Linked DNA regions of Homo sapiens: regions 2, 3, 4 and 5 are each linked to region 1. Evidence: promoter capture Hi-C in 16 types of primary human blood cells and fetal thymus (Javierre and others, 2016). All regions are on one chromosome and are shown on one strand. Each heading gives the region's core, a stretch centred on a gene start or on the middle of the fragment in contact. The rest is flanking DNA. Distances are from core to core; before and after follow the strand shown. Region 1 holds the start of CDK14 (cyclin dependent kinase 14). Region 2 overlaps CDK14 (cyclin dependent kinase 14). Region 3 overlaps CDK14 (cyclin dependent kinase 14). Region 4 overlaps STEAP2-AS1 (STEAP2 antisense RNA 1). Region 5 overlaps CDK14 (cyclin dependent kinase 14).

What was found. Contacts are between HindIII fragments. The CHiCAGO score rates a contact against its expected background, and 5 or more counts as called.
Region 2: a fragment that was not itself captured here is called in contact with the fragment with the promoter of CDK14 in region 1 in 2 of 17 cell types (total B cells and naive B cells); the score reaches 6.2 in total B cells.
Region 3: a fragment that was not itself captured here is called in contact with the fragment with the promoter of CDK14 in region 1 in 1 of 17 cell types (naive B cells); the score reaches 5.1 in naive B cells.
Region 4: a contact is called between a fragment that was not itself captured here and the fragment with the promoter of CDK14 in region 1, in 1 of 17 cell types (monocytes). The highest score is 6.9, in monocytes.
Region 5: a contact is called between a fragment that was not itself captured here and the fragment with the promoter of CDK14 in region 1, in 1 of 17 cell types (total B cells). The highest score is 5.4, in total B cells.

What each region holds. Positions count from the first base shown.
Region 1 is chr7:90,594,602-90,598,736 of GRCh38, forward strand. CDK14 (cyclin dependent kinase 14) reads left to right here and starts at 1,720. Exons shown (of 15, transcript NM_001287135.2): 1 at 1,720-2,117. The coding sequence starts at 2,027. RefSeq lists silencers at 1,328-1,527, 1,548-1,857, 2,048-2,247, 2,308-2,357. The HindIII fragment of the contact is 4,165 bases long and covers 965-4,135 here.
Region 2 is chr7:91,052,306-91,056,440 of GRCh38, forward strand. All of the region lies in intron 11 of CDK14 (cyclin dependent kinase 14), which reads left to right. Among named protein-coding and RNA genes, the nearest start is that of FZD1, 210 kb to the right of the region's middle. The HindIII fragment of the contact is 4,253 bases long and covers 1-3,917 here.
Region 3 is chr7:91,014,448-91,018,582 of GRCh38, forward strand. All of the region lies in intron 10 of CDK14 (cyclin dependent kinase 14), which reads left to right. Among named protein-coding and RNA genes, the nearest start is that of FZD1, 250 kb to the right of the region's middle. The HindIII fragment of the contact is 5,554 bases long and covers 1-4,135 here.
Region 4 is chr7:90,177,177-90,181,311 of GRCh38, forward strand. The region is part of intron 2 of STEAP2-AS1 (STEAP2 antisense RNA 1); the gene reads right to left. Among named protein-coding and RNA genes, the nearest start is that of STEAP1, 25 kb to the left of the region's middle. RefSeq lists enhancers at 1,718-1,777, 1,788-1,837, 3,056-3,557. The HindIII fragment of the contact is 1,055 bases long and covers 1,210-2,264 here.
Region 5 is chr7:90,954,230-90,958,364 of GRCh38, forward strand. CDK14 (cyclin dependent kinase 14) reads left to right here. Exons shown (of 15, transcript NM_001287135.2): 9 at 1,468-1,588. Among named protein-coding and RNA genes, the nearest start is that of FZD1, 310 kb to the right of the region's middle. The HindIII fragment of the contact is 525 bases long and covers 1,601-2,125 here.

The sequences.
Region 1 (4,135 bases), core at 470-2,969:
ATAACAGTCACAGGTGTATAATAGTGAAAGTTCGTTAAATTAATATTTCTTCGTGTTTGTTGACTCGTACAACCCATTAGTGTTTTGATTGGTTGCATTTGTCTTTTCATTCATAACTGCTGAAAACTTTCTCCCTAACTAACCTGAGGAAGTGGTAAAAGTCAAACTTTTTTCCGGTATGAGGCCACCCTTGGTGCTGTCTGTAATTATCTAGACATGGCAGCCAGGATCCAACAGCTTTGCGTTTTAACTCATATGGTCTTTCCTGGCGAATTCCTTGCCCCCCTCTGCTCCCCACTTAGCTTGACTTCCTGTCTTTTATCATCCGCAATCTATCAAGATCCTACAATGTGCTCAGTGTAGGGCGGAACAAATCACTGTTTTACCTCACAATTTAAGGAAGGCAGGGGGCTAGTTTTTAAGATAAAAATCTTTTAACAAAACATAAACTCCCCAAAATTTCCTACAAGCCAAACAGCATTGTCACACCCTCACAAGCTCTTATTACTTACACAGCCAAATGACTCAAGATTACTAACGTTTCTATTCATAAGGAGTTTGCTGGCCTCAGATCAACACAATCAAGCCCTCCCCCACCTTCCTTCTCTCTCCCCTGGGAGACTGACGTTTGGAACTCACGCCGCACCAGGTTTTTTCAGAATGAAGACGATGTGTGTTCGCTGCTGGAACTGTTTGTCCTGGGATTTTATAAACACCTCCCCCACTCCTTTTTAAAGTTCTGTTTTTGAGGTGGGGGAAAAGGAGGTCGGAATCTGTTTAGCCTTTAAATCTCCCAATTCAGAAATATATTCTAAGAATTTAATAGAAAAAGACCAAGGGCTGTGTCTGCTATTTACTGCAGAACTGGGTATTCCTATCAGAAATCACCTACATGTGTCACCAAGATCAGAGACAAGGATGAGGGAAACAGCATGATCCCTGCCTTCTGGAGGGTTACAGTTGAAGCTTCCGCTGCTTCTGCACTTGACCTCAAAACAAACAAAAAACCCACCGCAAACAACAACAAAAAAATCCAGGCCCACCTTTCCCCTTGGATCTTTCACTTGACAGCTTTCTCGGCCCAAAATAAGGCACCCTACATCTGAATGCATCCCTAAGGCCTTACCGCACCCAGTCCAGGAGGCAGTCCTGGCAGCTGCCCTCCACCGAACTCCGCGCTTTTTCACACACGCTCGTGGAAGGAGAAAACCGCTCAAACAACTGGACTCGGCCCGTTTCCTTTCGGTAACCTCCCCACAGCCCAACACGCTGTCCCCAGACGCTGCCCGCTCCCACCCCGGTCCCTTCGTGATCCTCCCGCGCGCGGGCGGGGCGGGGGAGGAGCGCGGGGGCGGCCGGGAGGGGCGCGGCCGGGAGGGGGCGCCGCCGGGGCGCGAGCCAGACACAGAGGGCCGCGGAGGACGCGGGAGGCGAGCGGGGAGCCGAGGTCGTGCTAGGATCCCGCGCCCAGGGGCCTTCGTCGAGGGAGGGGCGTGGCGGCGGCAGCAGGAGGGCAGCAGGAGCTGTCAGGCTGGCGGTTCCGCGCCGCGGCTCCTTCTGCGCTGCGCCCGCAACTCTGGGCTGAGAACTTCTCCCGCCGGCCCACTCGCCCTCGCCCCGCGCACTCGGCGCCAGGCGACTCCCGCACCTTGTACCCGGCCCGCCCCGCCTCCTCCTTCGGCCGCACCACTCCCCCTGCCGGCCGCGCTTCTCTCCGTTACAAAGGAGGGAAAATGAGCCGGGCGGCGGCGGCGCGGCGCGGGGCCACCACGGCGGCGGCGAGCGCGGCCGCCCCCGGCACCACGTAAACCGCCCCCGCCCGCCCAGCTGCGGCCCAGGCCGGAGCGGAGCCTGCCGTCCTCCGCCTGCCTGCTGCTCGCCTCCCTAGACCTGCGCGTCGCTTCCCGGCCCGCCGAGGAGGTGGTGGAGGAGGAGGCGCCGCTTTCCCCGCGGCGCGCGCCCTCGCCGTTGTCTGAGCTGTGCCTGGACCAGTTTGGGGAAGTTGTCGGGGCTCCGCGTCGCCCAGATGTGTGACCTCATTGAGCCGCAGCCGGCCGAGAAGATCGGCAAGATGAAGAAGTTGCGGAGAACTTTGTCGGAGAGTTTCAGTCGCATTGGTGAGTAGCGCGCTGCCCCCGGCCCCCCCAGCGCCCGCTCCCCTCGGCCTGCGCCCCCGCCGCGTTCCTGGCACCAGCCATGCAGCTGCCAGCGGGGCTGGCGTGGGGTGCGTTGTAGGCGGGGATCGAGGGCACAGTGCTAGGGACCCGGGGGAGGGCAAGGACGTAAAGGAAAGAGACCCCTCTTCCTCAGGATCTGGGGGTTCATTTGTAGATTCTCTCAAGCCTACAATATGGGTTCTCCCCTCCTCCGCCACTAGTGCTCGCCCTTTCGCGCGCGTGGGGGACGGGCGAGGGGACCCCTCGGCCCCCACCGCGCAAGGGGCTGCGCGGCTGCTTGGGCCACTTGTTATTTTTTGCGCACAGGCTTGGATATTGGGCGTTTAGTCAGTAATTTAGCTTTGGAAATTGGTGAAACGTTAGACTGTGCCCTGGTATTGTTTAACGTATCCAACCTAAAGGGAAGTGGGACAGTTACCTTGGGACCTATTGTTCGGTACTTCGGGTCCTGGAAAGCGAGATTTGGGTGTTCAGTCTCGAGGTCTCTGAATCTTCCCGCTGCTGGAGAGAAATGCGCGCTGTGGAGTTGTCTGGACATTTAGGAATGTCTCTCGAACTTGTTCCATTTAATAGAGCTCAGGGGCTGTTGTCTTTAAACCAAACAACAAACCAACTGACCAACAGTGTTTAGGACAGTGACGAATAAATGCATGTCACAGGTTGTAATAGGGTGACAGCAGTATCACGTGGAATGGGTTTGTTAGATTTTGAGTACTGGGCATAGAAAACCCCTTTTAACCTGAAGAGTTAGCTGCCTCCCCTACTGTCACAACTTTCACTAATAACATGTAACTGCCCTGAGCAAGAGAATGCTATAGACACAAAAGATAACCCCTGCGAGTCCCTAGGAAGCTGCCTAGTCTTTGTTTCACTTGTTTTAAATGTCATCCATGTTAACGAAAGTGTTAATGGAAATTAAACATAAAGGTACTTAATTCCTTAAAATAAAACCCTGGGATGCACATGAGTGTTACAGATATCCTTCCACCCATTCATTGTAAGATATGCAAACTTTCTTCAAGTGAGAGAGTACAATGGATCGAAATTTAGCCAAGTTTTTTTTTTTTTTTTTGTCTTTCGACTTAAAATTTTGTGTTGGTATGCAAAATCTTTCCCCAGATGACTGTAAAGTTATGGTATGAAACCAATCTTTAGTTTTATTTATTGCATGTATTGGATATTAATTTCACTCTTCAGAATTAGGGATACATGTGGAGAGTCCCTGCATTAAGATGAAGTTTGAAGCCAAGAAGAGTGTGAGAGAGGGAAATGTTGAGTCGTGTGCATTATTAACGAGGATGTTTCAACCCTGACCCAAACCGTCGCAGAGGCGGGTTCTGGAGTCCATTAAGCCGTGTTCTAAAACACATTAACTATATATTTACTAATGCTAATGATTCTGCTGGAGCCCCTCCAGTTTTGTGTTAAATAATTCATTGCAATTGAGTCTCAGTAAGAAACCAAGGACATTAATCTAAAAGTTCCTTATATTTAAATAATTTCAAGGTTTTGATCGACAATCAGTAAAATTTGGATTAAGTACAGTGCTGGCAAATGGGGGTATTATAGTTAATTGGATTTTCTAGCTTACTGAGATTTAGTGATGTGAAACTCCTTTTGAATCCAACTCTTGTTAAAATGTCTTCTAAGAGCTGGTGGATTTTATATCCTCCCTTTAGGACACAGAATGCAGTGCAGTGAGCACAGCTGATTATTTCTTGTATTGATGGAAAATATGATTCTGAATCGTAGATCTCATTATGGAGTATTGTAATAGGAGATATTGAAGTGATTATAGTTGTATACCAAGCCAACGACATTCAAAGTAGCATTACAGAAACAAAATCTGTATCTTCTTATTTTCTTGATGTTTTATATTGTATTTGCAAAATTAAAACCAGTGAACTCATTCTGATTATCTAAGGATTTTTTTTTTTTTTTTTTGAGACGGAGTCTCG
Region 2 (4,135 bases), core at 541-3,040, 460 kb after region 1:
CTCACTTCCTGAGTGTGTTTGTGTTTTTGTTTTCCAGCTTTCATTATGAAATAGCATTCTACTGAATGTGTATTACAATTTCTCATTGCCCTGCTAAAGAACAGTTTACTGACAATTAGACTATTTTAAAAAGCAGAGAAGTAGGGAGGATCTGATCTCTGTATTTGGTAAAATATCTACACAAAACCACCAATAACACTTCGTATAAAATGGTTTAGCACTGAAATAATGTGTAGATTCCATGTATGATACTTTCATCTCTCAAATGCTTCCAACAAAAGGGAAAGGTACATTCAAAAACTATTTAATGGATTATTCAGATGCTCAAAAAGGAATACACTGTGAAGTTCAGTGAGGAAAAAAATGCTGCTAGACCAGAAGCAATTAAAAGTGATGAAATTTAGAATAAAATAATTATATTTTCCAAAATCAAGCAAGAGAATAGAGCATTTCTAAAGTGGTTATATTACTTCTAAGGAAAAGTTAGCCAATGGAAAAGACTATTTGATTCAGGAAACTTTGAAGAAAATGGACTGTCTCCCAACGAATGAAATAATATAAAGAATTTGCCATTGGAGGCAATTGGGGAATGGTGATATTTTAAACACACTCTGCTAAAAACTAATCCTACAGACACATTGACCTTAAAGGGAATGTTTACATACGGACTTAGCTGTATCAAGGCTTTGTAATGAGGCAAAAAAAAAAGCCGTCTCTTTAAGTCCTTCCTCTTCTCTGGCCTGACTGGGACCCCAAAACCAAACAGGTCCACACTTTTTTGTTCCAGAGGGAGGAAGTAAATCATTTCAGAAATAAAATACTATGGTGATAACACCTTACGTTTTATGCTATATTTTATTATTTACAAAGCATTTTAATATATTATCTCATTTGATAGTTAGAATAACTGCATTATAATAATGCTTTTTTCCTAATATTGTTATCCCATTTACAGATGAAGAAACTGGGAAATTGAGGCTCAGAGAGATAGTGTGGTTTGCCCAGAGATCTCATCCCTCCAGGCTGTAGCAGAGCCAAAACTCAAACCCAGGTCTTTCAACTCTAAGCCATTCTCAGTGATGCCTCCTCCTCTCTTTAAGAGAGCTTCCCTGCCCACAGACCTAGACCTACGAAGGAGAATTGTCAGGCTCTTCCCAACTCTGTCTTGTGGCATCTTGGAAAAGACCTCTGTCTTCTTGTACATACCAGATCCACCCTCCACTTGCTAGGTATGGGCATATTCTTCCGCCCTTTAAACCTATGCCTCCAATAAATCATCAGCTCCAAAATCTCCTCTGCAGATGTTTAGTCTCAGATGTGTAGTCCTTAACACATACTATCGGAACTGCCCACTTTCCTCATTTGCAGATGTGAGGATGTTTGAACCCTTAGCCTTTATTGACATTCTTGGCTTTTCCTGAGTCTTTTAGAAGGTGATAGAAAAGCTGTGGATGCAGCAGAAATTGTTGTCGGGGTGGGATATTCCATGCAGGAAGACTGCGGGGGGGCTCTTTGTGCCATGATGTTGCCCTGCACAGACCACACCTGCAGTGAGGGGAGGCCTGTGAAGTGCTGAGATACCTTCCTTACTCTTCTAGAAGAGTCATGTCTGCTCCATCCAGCCTACAGACTTGCTACGTAAATTAAATGAGATAAACTATTTTTACATTCCCTTCAATATTTGTTATTTATACTCTACCTATTTTTAAGCAGATTTGAGCTAGCTGACATAATTGATATAAAAGTACTTTTAAACTGTTAGGGGCATGTAACTGCAAAATAATTTTTTTTTTTTTTTTTTTTTTTACCATTTATATACCATGTGCTCTGCCTGCTATCTCCTTTCCCACTTACTCTTTACACTTTACCTCAGGAATTTTAAATTATTTTTATGATTGATAGCAACTATAATGATTATGGGTTAGGTCTAGGTGTATGGGCTGTAACTATGTGATGGTTATTAAAATGGACTTTAAAAATTATTACGTAAATATCTGCTTTTTATCTCAGATTTTATTGCTAAAAGCCTTGTGGGTCTGCTTGACACAAGCCTTAGGGTATTTAGAGCTCTCCCCACCCACCATCAGCTATCACCTTTGTGAACTTTGCTGTCCCTCCTCCCACAAATAAATGCTGCTTTAATCACATAGTGAAAAAGCCAGTTAATTACTAAATTTATGAACTATGTGAACATTATAAAGCTAAGGAAGTAAAATATGTAAACATGACAGGAAGGGCAGACTGCACTTTCTGGTTGAGCCAGCCATACTGGGAGGTCACTGGTGGTTGCTGGAGAGCAGATGCTAAAGTTGAGAGTCGGTGTTTGCATCAGCAGTAACTGCTTTACATCTGCTTATGAGCTTGGATTCCTGTTGAGTGCTTACTAGGTGCCAGGCAGTATTGTGGGTGCTAAAGATGCAGTTTGAACAAAGCGGATGAATCCTTTTTCTTGCAGAGCTCACATGCTAGAGAGGGGACTAATAATAGACAAATTACAACTTACCATGCCTGTGAGCACAGGGACAGCGGCAAGAAACAATTCAGGGGGGCAGGTCCTTGGAAAGCCAAGGTGAAGAGTCAGGATTTTACTTGAAGTGTGAGTGGAATCATCGGAGGGTTTTGAAGAGAGGAAGAAATCAATGCTTTATGTTTTCAGAAAGACCTACAGGCTACAAAAAGTCACGGACTCATTTCAGAGCTGGAAAGAGGTTTCATCTGAAGTGTGAAATCCTCTTGATTGGTCATTTCTGCCTGCAGCCCTGGGTCAAGAAGGGTCTATAAAAGCGAGTACTAACTCACAGGGAAATTATTCTCCTACCAGTTAGCAGTGATGCCAGAGACACAAAGGATATTTTTCCTCATAGGTCCATAGCTGACCAGGGATTTGTTATAAAATAAATCGTAGATATGGCCAACGATATGAAATAAAAATAAAAAAGAAACAACCAAAAACCTTGATAATCACTTAAAAATGTAAAATTAGCAATTCATTTCCCCTACAATAGGTAGGTTAAGAAGGGAAATCCCTGTAGGAATGTTGTAAACCCATTTCAGTACAAAGGAGGGACAATCTGTACTTTGTCTGGATGTACTTGAAGAATTTCACATTTATTTTCACTAGAGGGCATCAGTAATGATGGAGACTAGCAGAATGTCTAGAAAATGCCAGAAAAAAAAGTAGTAAGATTAAATTTTCAAGGGAAAATGAAGTTCTACTGATAGCAGACTTATTTTTAAAAATCCCAAATAAACTGGTTTTATTAGTTCTACTCGCTGGAATTTTGTAAAATTTATTTTGGGAGTTATTCACACCTCATATCGCTAAAGTTGATATAGAGGGCCAATCACCATATAAAGACTTCTTTACCTCTTCAGTAATTCCAACCCACCTAAGAGTATTAAAAGTCTTGTATACTGTCCAATTTGTATAATTTGGTTAAAGTCATATTGAAGAAAAGAATTTAACTTTTAGCCTAAGAATTTATAGCAGAATTAAATGAAGACAGGGACGATTTACTTGATACTGAAAGAACTGTCATCTCTTTTAAAATAAAACATTTGGTTGAGTTGTTATATACCAGTGGCATTTCCATAAACTGGCCGTACACTTTTAATTGCCTTCCTAAGTTTGTAACCTAATGTTTTATGTTTATCCTTCCCACAAATTAATGCCGGCAAGTATATAACTAGGAATCTATGCATTGTATAAAGTCCTCCATAACTCCTCACCCTGAACTTTTAGGTCCCTTTCCAAAAACTTTTAAAAATCAAGATCTTAGGAAGGGAGATGAGGGGATTGGAAGTTTGGATGTAAAACAAGAAAACGTTGTCCCTCGTCTTCAAGGTGGGTGTTGACCACAGTACCTTGAGTAGGACACTGTATCTTTAGGGAAGAAGTGGGACTTCACTAAGCCAAAAGCTTGCACAGCTGTCCAGTTTGACCGGGGATTCCACACCACTATGAGAGATTCGTGACTAAGTGGTTGACCCAAGGGTAGGATGAAGATTTTCTCTCTTAGGTGCCTGGAAATATTGGAAGCACAGAGAACAGCATGGTGTTCGGTAATCTGAATATTCATATAAATTTTTCAGCATGTGAAAATTCTTTTTTTTTAATTATACTTTAACTTTTAGG
Region 3 (4,135 bases), core at 851-3,350, 420 kb after region 1:
TGTTTAGAATGATTTAGCCCATGTTCTTTTTCCAAGAGTTTTAATAAATGAGTTTAGAGTTACCAACTATAAAACATACAATGATGATGATTTTTCCCTTATTTTTATTAGAAGACTATGTTGTGACCAAGCTAAGTGTGATGTAGAGGTAGCAGTAGTATTAAACAAGCATAGGGATTCTGAAAGCACTAAGCAAGCTAATATATCAAACAGCCATACCATGGGTTCATTGTCATTAAAGTAGGTTAGCTGCCAGTAAAGGTTAGCTATGTGTATTGTTACTAATAGAAGTTTGTTCGATTTCAGATATAAATATTAAATTCCATTATGGTGCACGCCCCAGCATGGGTGAGGAGCCTGAGTGTCCACCTGCCTAGCTGTATGGACCGACCATTTCTAAAGATGCCTGGTTGACTGGGGCAAGGGCCAACTGTGAAATCCCCTTTCAGTTTTTCAAAGTCTATGATTAGTTCCTTGTTGATATGAAAATTCATATTGCTTGCTTGCAGCTAAGTCTTTGAAACCTATGTCCATTGTCACTAATTTTCCTTATTAGCATACTTAGTATTTTTCTCTTATAGGAGTCTATCTATCTTTATGTAATAGATAATATTCTGTGTAATGTGTCATTTGACTTTGCCTTAATCTATTTGTGTTTTTGCTAATTTTTTTTCTGCTTTATATGAAGTCCAGATACTTTAATCTCTTCTTATCTGTGTCAACCTTACTTGCCCATTGTTCCTCTTTAACAAATCAGATCAGTTTTCTTACTAATTAAGGTCATTCTTATTTTTCTTTCCTTGAGCATTAACTCCTTCCTCAAGACACTCCCTGTTTTCACTCCCTTACCCAAGTTCTGTACATTCTTCACTGCTATGGGGTCTTTAGCCCCAGGATGCTCTTCCTTTTCATAATTACTCTTCACTGGCAATTCAGATCAAACAGATTGTACTTACCCTATATGCCATCTGCTCCCAGAATTGCTCACAATAATTGAAGATGTATCCTGTAGCATTCATCTTCCCAATGAATAGGTTTGTTGGGTCTCCCTACCCCAGCAGAGTATGTCTTGGGTTTTTTTTTTTTTTTTTTTTTTTTGAGACTGTGTCTCGCTTTGTTGCCCAGGCTGGAGTGCAGTGGCATGATCTCGGCTCACTGCAAGCTCCGCCTCCCGGGTTCAAGCCATTCTCCTGCTTCAGCCTCCCGAGTAACTGGGACTACAGGCACCCGCCACCATGCCCGGCTAATTTTTTGTATTTTTTTTAGTAGAGATGGGGTTGTCTTGGTTTTTTTATACCTTACTTCATGGAATATGGGTATGAATCAGTTCTGTGTTTATATACCAAAAAAAAAAGGCATATAAACATTTCACAAAAATATTTGTTAGATTTTCAACAAGCATCCTAAAATGATAGTTGATGATTTACATGTTAGCAGATTACTATGTTTTAATTACATTTTGGGAAGTTGATTGGGATTTTGGGGTTGACATGTACTATATCAAAATATTTCTCATTTAAAGTAATGGGAAATAGGTTATCAGTATTTTCATGGAGAACATTGGCTTTTCAGATATGGATAACTGACCTAAAGTGAGCAATGCCTATATGAACCATCATTAAATAAATAGATCCCTGCTGCTAACACCCTGGAGGATGTTGTGTGGAGCTACATAGAGCTGCCCACAAGAAAAGCAGCCCTACAACCAGTATCTACCTTCAGAACAATGCCTGTAGGTTAGCACTTCTTCCATTATGAATTTTGATTTGAGAATATTTGAAAACCAATGTGTTTTCTCTGCTGACAAAACATAGTACTCTAACATGTTTGTTTCTACCAATCACCCTTTACACACGCCTCTCATTTTACCATGATTTTTTGTGGCCTTTCAGGAATCACAGACTGAATTTTGTATTCCTCAATTTAGACGGTCCTAAACATGCTCTCATATATTGATGAAAAGCCATCAAGCCATTATCCTAGGTGGTACAATGAACTAGATAGATACTTAAATTTAGATTATACCCTGTTTTATGGTACCATATGGCTCCAGCTAGACTATCAACCTCTTTTGAAAGTGAGTTATGCATTTTAACTACCCCTCCTCAGCCCACCCAACCTGGTTTTCAATTATTTCAGATGTTGAGGGAGTACTTCTTGAGAGCTTTGCAGTTCAGGTCTTAAGCAGAATTGTAGGGTGCGTTTGAAATTTGAATAACATATTTATCTCTGACCTTGCTGTGGCAAATCCACTGCTACTATGTATGCTAGGTAGTTTTTATATTCATCATCTATAGCATGTTTTAAGGTTTCGGAACCTAGATTCTATTAGAGGAATAGGAGTGATATTTTTTCATAAGCCAAACTTTCAAACAAAACTAAACAAAGCATTGTCTATAGTAACTTCGCATACACCAGTGAAGGCACAGAAGATGACCTAGAAGGGACCTTTGCGAAAGCCTCCCAAAAACTTCATTGGGCCTATTTTTCCTATTAAGAAAAAGAAGAAAGGGAAATAAGCAACAAAATGATATTAAGGAAGAAGGCAGGCAAAATTCCTATGGGGCTCTTTTTTGACTGTTCTTGAGCCCCCAGTGGTGTTTCCTTTCTTCACTTTATCTGCTGGAATGTATTTGTAATGAGCAAAAATAATTTAAGTACACAGGTCTATTTTCTATGAAGTTAATACTTCTTAGTGAGATATATTTCACTTTTTAAGAGTGATTGACTTAAGAATTTATTCCCCACTGTTTTCTCCAATAGAAGAAGCTCTTTAAGATATATAAAGGAAAAAAGCTAAGTACAAACTAGGTCTAAGTTCACATTAGAGGAAGGAAGAGAAAGTGGCTAAACAGATGGACATGATACAATATCCAGGGCATGCAGGGAGGATTTCTAGCTGGTGGTTTCTTACAGGGCTCAGGACTGGGCCTATGCTAACAGACTCACTTTTTATTAAATACTCTCAAATATTGTTAATTGTTATTTTGTTTTTCATATGTGATATTTTCCTAATAATTTTTAAAGTTGGAGTTTAAAATGCTTTTAGAGAGATGAACTCTTTTAAAACAAGGTATCTCCAGGTCAGCTTTCATATACACTTTAGGCTCAGCAGTAGGTGCTTGGTGGTGCTGCCTGAATGATGGACTTTTGGTCTGTGTATTGCTATTATTGATTACTTCAGATGGTCGATAGGTGTTTGTGTTTGACATAGACAGAATAAATGGGCACTGCTATATGATGGATGAGTATCACAGCGTCTGGAAGGGCTCTGCCTTCACATAACTCTTTTAGGAAGGGCTAACACCAGTGTGTTCTGATATTGCTTTTGTTCTCTGAGTAGGTGAATCTGTGCACAGAGATAACAAGCCCTTTTGAATTACAGGGCCACTAGGGTACAAATGCTAGCCAGCCTTCCAGATTATTTTCATAACTAAAAATGGGCTGCAAACCAGCTTCATCCAATTTCGGGGATTGGATGAAACCAAATTAGATCTACTGTGCATCAGACAGAGGTTGTGCTGGCAAACAGCAGACATATAAATGTGACCATGTTTCCTAAAAGAGGCATGGGGGACAGTGGTATTTCTGAGTGAATTTATAACTGATGACGTAAATGGCAAGTACATACATACTGGATAAATTTGAAATCTTCAGTACAAAGGAAGCAAAAGAAACAGGAAGGAAAGGAAGCCATCTTTGTTCTAAAGCCTGAGGAGCAGTGTGATCTTGTAGAAAGAACCTAGGCCTTTGGGTGTGAGCTCCCCATTCTTCTTCTTCCTCTTCCATTTACTAGCTGTTTGTCCTCATACAATGAACTTCACTTCCTGACCCTTGTCTGTATCATGAACATAAGAGAACTGTCTTAGTCTCTTTGAGTTGCCATAACAAAATACCATAAGCTGGGTAAATTATAAACAATGGAAACTTACTTCTCATAGTTCTGGAGGCTGGGAAGGCCCTGGCATATTTGGTATCTGATGAGGGCCCTCTTTCTCACACAAAAAAATTAATAAATAAAAAATATCTTCTTGCAGAGTCTACACATGGTAGAAGGGGAAAACTCTATCTCCTCAACTCCTTACAAGGGCATTGATATGGTTTGGCTGTGTGTCCCCACCCAAATCTCATGTCG
Region 4 (4,135 bases), core at 487-2,986, 420 kb before region 1:
AAACTGTCAGTCAAAAAAAGAACAAAAAAGAAATAGAAAAAAATTATGCTACAAAAATATAGTAATCAAAATATCATGGTACTGGCATAAAAATGGACACATAGATAAACAGAACAAAATAGAGAACTCAGAAGTAAAGCCATGTACCTCCAGCCAACTCATCTTTAACCAAGTTGACAAATGTAGAAGAATGAAACTGGTCCCCTATCTCTCACCATATACAAAAATTAACCCAAGATAGATTAAAGACTTAAATTTAAGACCCAAAACTAAAAAAATCCTAGAAGAACACCTAGGAAAAACTCTTCTGGACATTGGCCTAGACAAAGAATTCATGACTAAGGCCTCAAAAGATTCAGAGGGGTAGGAGGGGAGTAAAGGATGAGAAATTACTCAGTAGGTACAATGTACGTTATTTGGGTAGTGGTTACACTAAAAGCCCAAACTTTACCTTTATGTAATATAACCATTTAAGAAAACGAACTTGTATTCCCTAAATTTATACAAATTAAAAATGAATGAATGAATGAAACAAGACACATGGGCAAATTATAAAACTGTGCTATGAATTAAGATGGTGTGATTAACTATTTACACCCAGGATCCAAAAAGGAGAAAACTTTACATATTAATAGGGAAACTAATTTCCAAAATAGATATAGCTGAAGATTAATTTACAGAACTAAACGTCTAAACTGAGGGATTCTCCCAGAACACAGTTCAAAAGAAAAAATTCATAAAATGGAAAACTTTAAAGAAGAGTTAAGGGGCATGAAAAGAGACCCAAATGATCTCAAATACCCATTGTGTAAGTTTCAGAAGGATGCAATAGAAGCAATAAAATAAGAAAACAAATAAATAATGGAGGGAAATTTCTTGGAGCTAGAGAAAGACACTAGACTTCAGAGCAAAACCTCTGTAAGATGAAGGGGCTGAGGAGGGAGGGGAGGAATGCACGCCTTTGCAAGCTTGATGGAACTTCAGGCCACCAAGGATAAAGAGAAAAATCCCAAAAACTTCCATAAGGAAGAAACAGACTTTTTTCTTTGGAAAGAAGAATCTGATTCCAAATAATTGAGGAGACAAAGTAGGTGATTATGCACATTGCTAAGATTTGGCTCTAGAAAAAGCTGGGCAGTAGATGGTATTGCTAGAAGGGATGTCATCAATAGTGAGCTAAGTGTACTAAAATTATCATTTTTCTCACAAAGCTTCATGTTCTGAAGGGAAAGAGGCAATTATAATTCTGGTCCCAGCTATAAATGGGCTGGTGCCAATGTATCATCACCCAACTGCTTCTCTAAAATCCAGCTAGCATCCGTCTCTCATAAGAAGCAGCATTTATACGAAGACATTCTAATGTCTACACATCTATAATCCAATATCTGTAATATAATCTATAATCTAATATCTGTAATCCAATATAATATCTGTAAATGCTAACTAGCATCATTTCAAATTATAAACCCCTATGAAGTCTCCCTGATAACTGACAATGAAGCCAGCATACGGAGACTTTTCCAGAGTCATGAGCTTGTGGGTGGCAGAACAAGGGCTGGGAGGCAGGCCTCCTGACTTTGTAGCCAGTACTGGTGCCACCATGTCATGCTGACAGCTCAGCACCAATCCTTCTATACTCTCGTGTTTTCTCCTGTTTGTGATAAAGTATGTACATCTGTGTCATTGGAAGGCTTGGAGAAGAGTCCAAAGGTGCAAAACAAAGCAAATCTCCCCACGCCTGGCAGAATCTTCAGTCCTGGCCTAATGAGCTCACCAGCTCAGTAAGTTCTGCGACTGCTTCGGGTTACCAAAAGAATAGAGTATGTAACAGTGCTAGGAAAAGAGACACTTAAAAACCCACATCCAGGCATTGTTCAATGACTGCTCATAAATACTTTATGGCAAAATTCTTTCTGGTGGCACAGAAGGCCATGAACAATCTGACACCTCCATTAGTCACCTCTGTTAGTCACCACTACGACTTCCTGACCCATCTCTGGGTTTCACTTCAGTTTTTAGATACCCAGCCCTAACAATTAAGCAAAACTTCATTGATAGTTCCTCTTCAAAAGTATTTCCAGAATAACTATTAAAATCCCATGGACTAGTCAAGATAGTGAGATATGCTTTTGAGTGAACAGCCACCATTTCTTCCTTTTAGAGATTTATTTTTTAACTTAACAAAAAGCAAATCTAATGTGAAACTTAATGAAAATTGTTTCAAAAACTTGAAATGCAACTACAAAATAGCCCATTATTGCCTAAGCTTTCTATACTTAACTAGTTTTCTAAATCTATATTACATAGGCTAGAGAAATAACATATTGTTTTTATATGTACAATCCAAATCTAGTCTCTCCGAATTTTCTTTAAGGCCAACTATTTTAATATAGGCCAGTATTTTACTCTATTATTCAATCGCAAACCACGTTTCTTTCCTCACAGTAGTGCATTTTGACAAAATCAATCTTTTCATTCTTTTCAGCAAATAATACAGAAATTGGGATTCATTCATGAGAAGTCAGTGAAAATAAAAATGATTTCAGATTTTCTTTACATTTGTATAATATCACTAGTAGAGGAGGAATGGCTTTCCAGACCACTTGTTAGGAAAAAAATATGAGTGGGAAATTACACTAAGCCTATATAAACAATTCCAAAGTAGAATTCTCTTTTCTCCTTGGTAAATAAATGCTTGATTTTCATAATTCAACATATAATTTTAAACTAGGGCAACCAAACTTGTGACATGAAAAGAGGAATTTTATTGTTAAGTTACACTGGTATACTGCAAAGTCATACCAAAAAAAAAGGAGCAAAATATATTTTTTAATAATCTTACACAAGAATGCTCAAGAATCTTCTACATGAGGTAACTACAGAAAAAAAGAACACTAGGTCAGCTGAAGGCTGAACTAAATTTGTTCCATAAAAGTTGGTGAGTTTCATTTTTCGCTTCTAAGGGGATAAAGGAAAAAGAATGTGCATTGTGTTTAAGAAAACCCAGAATACTGCCAAAAGTTTGCCACCCACTTTGGCATTCTGCCTTTATCCTGAAAGATAATTTCTTCTCCATTATAAACAGCCTATGTGAGATGAACTGTCAACAAGAGGGAAGCTAGAGTGAGAAACAGAGAAAAAGAACAGCATCATGCAAGGAAAGTTATGAAACAAATTGACTCTTGATTCTCTCTTGGCTTGCCTTTCTTAATGCAAATAGAATTAAAAAGTCAAATAGCCCTAATGTTAGCCAGGTGAAGTGTGGTTAGAAATGGTTGACTGGAAATTCCCTTGCTTTCATCAAACAATTGTTATGTGAATATTGCATCAGCTTGGTCCTTTTGATGTTCCTACATGACTTAAGAAAACTTTGTATTTCCAGTAGTGTATTTCCAATGACAAAAACTCTGCTGTGTGATTTTAGAAAATCACTAAAATTACCAGTGCTTTTGCTAGATCTTTCACAGTTGCAAAAACAAATGTTTTTGAACAAGGCTCTATTTTTCATGAAAATATTCAACTGAATGCAGGGAAAGTAAATGCAAAATATCTAGGGAAGGCACCAATCAAATCATGCAAGAAGAGATTTTTCTAGACTTCAAAGAAAAAGTATTCAGTGACTCCAAGGTGTGGGGCAAGGGAGGCAGGGGAGTGATGAATTTGTTTTCTTTGCATTGTTCCACTTCCTTGTTTGCTGTGTTGCACAAACTCTATTGAATATCAAGATTTGGCCTCTTATGAATAAGATACTTAATAGAGAAGAATGTCAGTTTTTTCAAGCCCATAAATACCTTTTAAATGTTCTTAGAATTTTACAATTGGATGAAAAAGCATCAAAAAACATAGTTTGTATAATTTTATCATTAAAAATATTTTCCATTATTATTCAAGGAGTTCATTGATGCTGAATACAAAATGCCTAAGATTTATTATTTAAGTTTATGAGCTAAAGGAAATCTTAGTGTTTATCTAGCCTAACTTCCTTGTTCTACATTTCTGTTTTGTTTTTTCAAATGATGTATCTTGTTTGCTTCACGATTATGTTAAAGAAAAAGTTTTTTTTCAGAAATAAGAAATAGATTATAAATTTTTAAAAAGGAAAGAAAATTGAGGAAAAAGGGAATTAAAGGATATT
Region 5 (4,135 bases), core at 613-3,112, 360 kb after region 1:
AATTTACATATAATACTGAAAATGGAATGCTACATTTAATAAATAAGAAAAAGCCATTTCCTTACTACATAAAAATTTTTAAATAGAACATTAAAATGAATATGTTATGGTAGGTTCACTGTAAAAATGTTTTAAGTGCTATAAACATAACAGTAAATAATACTTTATACTTGTCACTAATGAATACAGCTAGATAGAAAGCTGTCACACAGGTTTTTTTCTTTTAAAAAATGACATCTATAGATTTTGTGATTTTTAAAATAATTGCACATTCATTCCACAAATCTTGGGAAAACACTCAGAAAAACTTACTAAAAAATAAAGATAATCCCATATTCCAGAGGTAACCACTGAAGACATTTAAATGTATTTTCTGCCAAACTTTTTTCTTTTTTTTTTTTTTTTTTTTTTTTGAGACGGAGTCTCGCTCTATCACCCAGGCTGGAGTGCAGTGGCGGGATCTCGGCTCACTGCAAGCTCCGCCTCCCGGGTTCACGCCATTCTCCTGCCTCAGCCTCCCAAGTAGCTGGGACTACAGGCGCCCGCCACTACGCCCGGCTAATTTTTTTGTATTTTTAGTAGAGACGGGGTTTCACCGGTTTAGCCGGGATGGTCTCGATCTCCTGACCTCGTGATCCGCCCGCCTCGGCCTCCCAAAGTGCTGGGATTACAGGCGTGAGCCACCGCGCCCGGCCCTTTTTTTTTTTTAGAGGGAAAAAAAAACAGACCTACAAATATTTTTTCTGTGCATGAGTATTTATGGTTATGAGGTCAAATTGCGTATACCTTTTCACTTAACATCTTCCCAGTTTAAAAAAATTCTTAGAGGACATTTTAATTTATCATATATAATCTCATCAATGTATGTACCAGATTTGACTATTCCTTTATAGTTATTTATTTAGATGTTTTTTCAAAAGAGCTTCTGCAATAAGCATTTCCTAGTGAGTATTTGACAGAACACTGAAACCACAAGAAATTTTAGGACAATTCTTTGGGGAAAGTATTATACTCTCCTCTTGCAGATTCACAATACGCATTAGAACAATTAAGAAAACTGAGAAGTTTCACAATTTAAGGATTCTTTAAGTTTCTAAATCTGTTTTTTCTCAGTTATTTGACCAAGGAACCCTTTCTCACAATACTTATAAATCTGAAAAATTCAAGAGACTTCTAAGCTCCTGTGTTATGATAGTTTGTGAATTATTTGTTTACTCTGCTGATATTTTATTAGATTCATGACATCAGTGCTTTATTAGGAAATAGAAATGTTTTAATGGTTATTAGCATGTGTTAAAAACAGAAACCACAATATGCTTTCCCCAGTTTTCTATTAACCTTGATACTGCACTCCTGATTCTGTATTAAAAGGTCGGGTTTGACCTTTAAGAATGTGAACGTTCAAATTTAAATTCCCTTGTTTTGCTAATGCCTGTTAAACTTCTTTATGTTTCATATAACCCACAGGTCTTGCAAGAGCAAAATCCGTCCCTAGCCACACATACTCCAACGAAGTGGTTACCTTGTGGTACAGACCTCCAGATGTCCTTCTAGGCTCAACAGAATATTCCACCTGCCTTGACATGTGGTGAGAAATGGAAGCTTTACTCTAGCTAATCTATCTGTAGTGCTTGGTCTGGGTCAAGCCTAGACAAACATCCTAACAGTTTGAATGAAGATTAATGGTGCAGGAGTGTTTGCCTGCATGTGGCCATGCTGCTGGATGTTTTAAAACATGATTGGGAATGTTCTCTAATTAGAGTCTCCTTTGCAGATGCTGTGTGGTAATGGTTCTTGATGGACAGGGGCAGAGACATTTTTCTAACTGTCAGTATCATGATTTTTCTCTCCCTAAGAGTCTTAATTTGTGGCTGTATCTTATAACAAGGGAAGTATGTATCTCCAGACGGCAACAGGATTGGAGTAGCAGGGAGTATGTTTAAATTTGCAACAAAGCTCTGATGAGTGGTCTGAAAATTTTGGTGTAACTGTTAGGCACCAGTTTGACTCACAGTATGTACTTGAAAACTTCTGACACTAGTTATCCAAAATGAAATAAAATGACTACTTTTAAAAAATATTATATGTTTAATTTTAGGTCTCACTTTCACAAATGCTTTAGCAAAGCTTAAAAATCTATTTTATGAGGTCCAATGACTGTCAAGATTTAATTCATAATTAGCATTAATGATAAACTATGCTGAGTTCCCAACTAAGTGTGATCCAAATCAAACAATCAAATAAGGGAATAATCTAATTTTTGGCATGAAGGACGGACTGTTGAACATATCTTTTATTAATAAAATAATTTCTTTTCAGACTCACAGTTGTGTCCAAAGTAAAACAATTTACATAGCACATGGCTATTTTTTTATTTTTATGTATTTATTTATTATTATTATACTTTAAGTTTTAGGGTACATGTGCACAATGTGAAGGTTAGTTACATATGTATACGTGTGCCATGCTGGTGCGCTGCACCCACTAACTCTTCATCTAGCGTTAGGTATATCTCCCAATGCTGTCCCTCCCCCCTCCCCCCAACCCACAACAGTCCCCAGAGTGTGATGTTCCCCTTCCTGCATCCATGTGTTCTCATTGTTCAATTCCCACCTATGAGTGAGAATATGTGGTATTTGGTTTTTTGTTCTTGTGATAGTTTATTGAGAATGATGATTTCCAGTTTCATCCATGTCCCTACAAAGGACATGAACTCATCATTTCTTATGGCTGCATAGTATTCCATGGTGTATATGTGCCACATTTTCTTAATCCAGTCTATCATTGTTGGACATTTGGGTTGGTTCCAAGTCTTTGCTATTGTGAATAATGCCGCAATAAACATACGTGTGCATGTGTCTTTATAGCAGCATGATTTATAGTCCTTTGGGTATATACCCAGTAATGGGATGGCTGGGTCAAATGGTATTTCTAGTTCTAGATCCCTGAGGAATCGCCACACTGACTTCCACAATGGTTGAACAAGTTTACAGTCCCACCAACAGTGTAAAAGTGTTCCTATTTCTCCACATCCTCTCCAGCACCTGTTGTTTCCTGACTTTTTAATGATTGCGATTCTAACTGGTGTGAGATGGTATCTCATTGTTGGAAGTTCTGGCCAGGGCAATTAGGCAGGAGAAGGAAATAAAGGGTATTCAATTAAGAAAAGAGGAAGTCAAATTGTCCCTGTTTGCAGACGACATGATTATATATCTAGAAAACCCCATTGTCTCAGCCCAAAATCTCCTTAAGCTGATAAGCAACTTCAGCAAAGTCTCAGGATACAAAATCAATGTACAAAAATCACAAGCATTCTTATACACCAACAACAGACAAACAGAGAGCCAAATCATGAGTGAACTCCCGTTCACAATTGCTTCAAAGAGAATAAAATACCTAGGAATCCAACTTACAAGGGATGTGAAGGACCTCTTCAAGGAGAACTACAAACCACTGCTTGAGGAAATAAAAGAGGATACAAACAAACGGAAGAACATTCCATGCTCATGGGTAGGAAGAATCAATATCGTGAAAATGGCCATACTGCCCAAGGTAATTTACAGATTCAATGCCATCCCCATCAAGCTACCAATGACTTTCTTCACAGAATTGGAAAAAACTACTTTAAAGTTCATATGGAACCATAAAAGAGCCCGCATCGCCAAATCAATCCTAAGCCAAAAGAACAAAGCTGGAGGCATCGCACATGGCTGTTTTATAATAGGAGTCATTTTCCCTGAATGATTATGCCCCCATATGTAGAATTCCACTGTGTATTCATATAATTTTATGACCTCAGTAAAACTGCAGTATGTGTTGTTTATCTTACTGTTGTATACTTACTTACTTCAGTGCTCTACCCCCCGTAATCTTGGCTTTTCATAAATTGGCCTGTGATGAGGCCTGGCTTCTTTCCTGATGTTTTTGATCCAAAAACGTTATGGTGAGAAAACAATCAAGTTTCTCATGATCTAGGGCACAGTGCAGATTTTTTTATGTTCTAGCAGCCCTCCCTAAGAATGAGATTTAGGGATTTGTAAAGCCACTGAGGATACCTGCAACATTTTGTGTACATGAGAACGTATTTATTTTTATTGAAGTGTAGCTCTAAAGCTTTCTAGTAGAGCTACAAGAA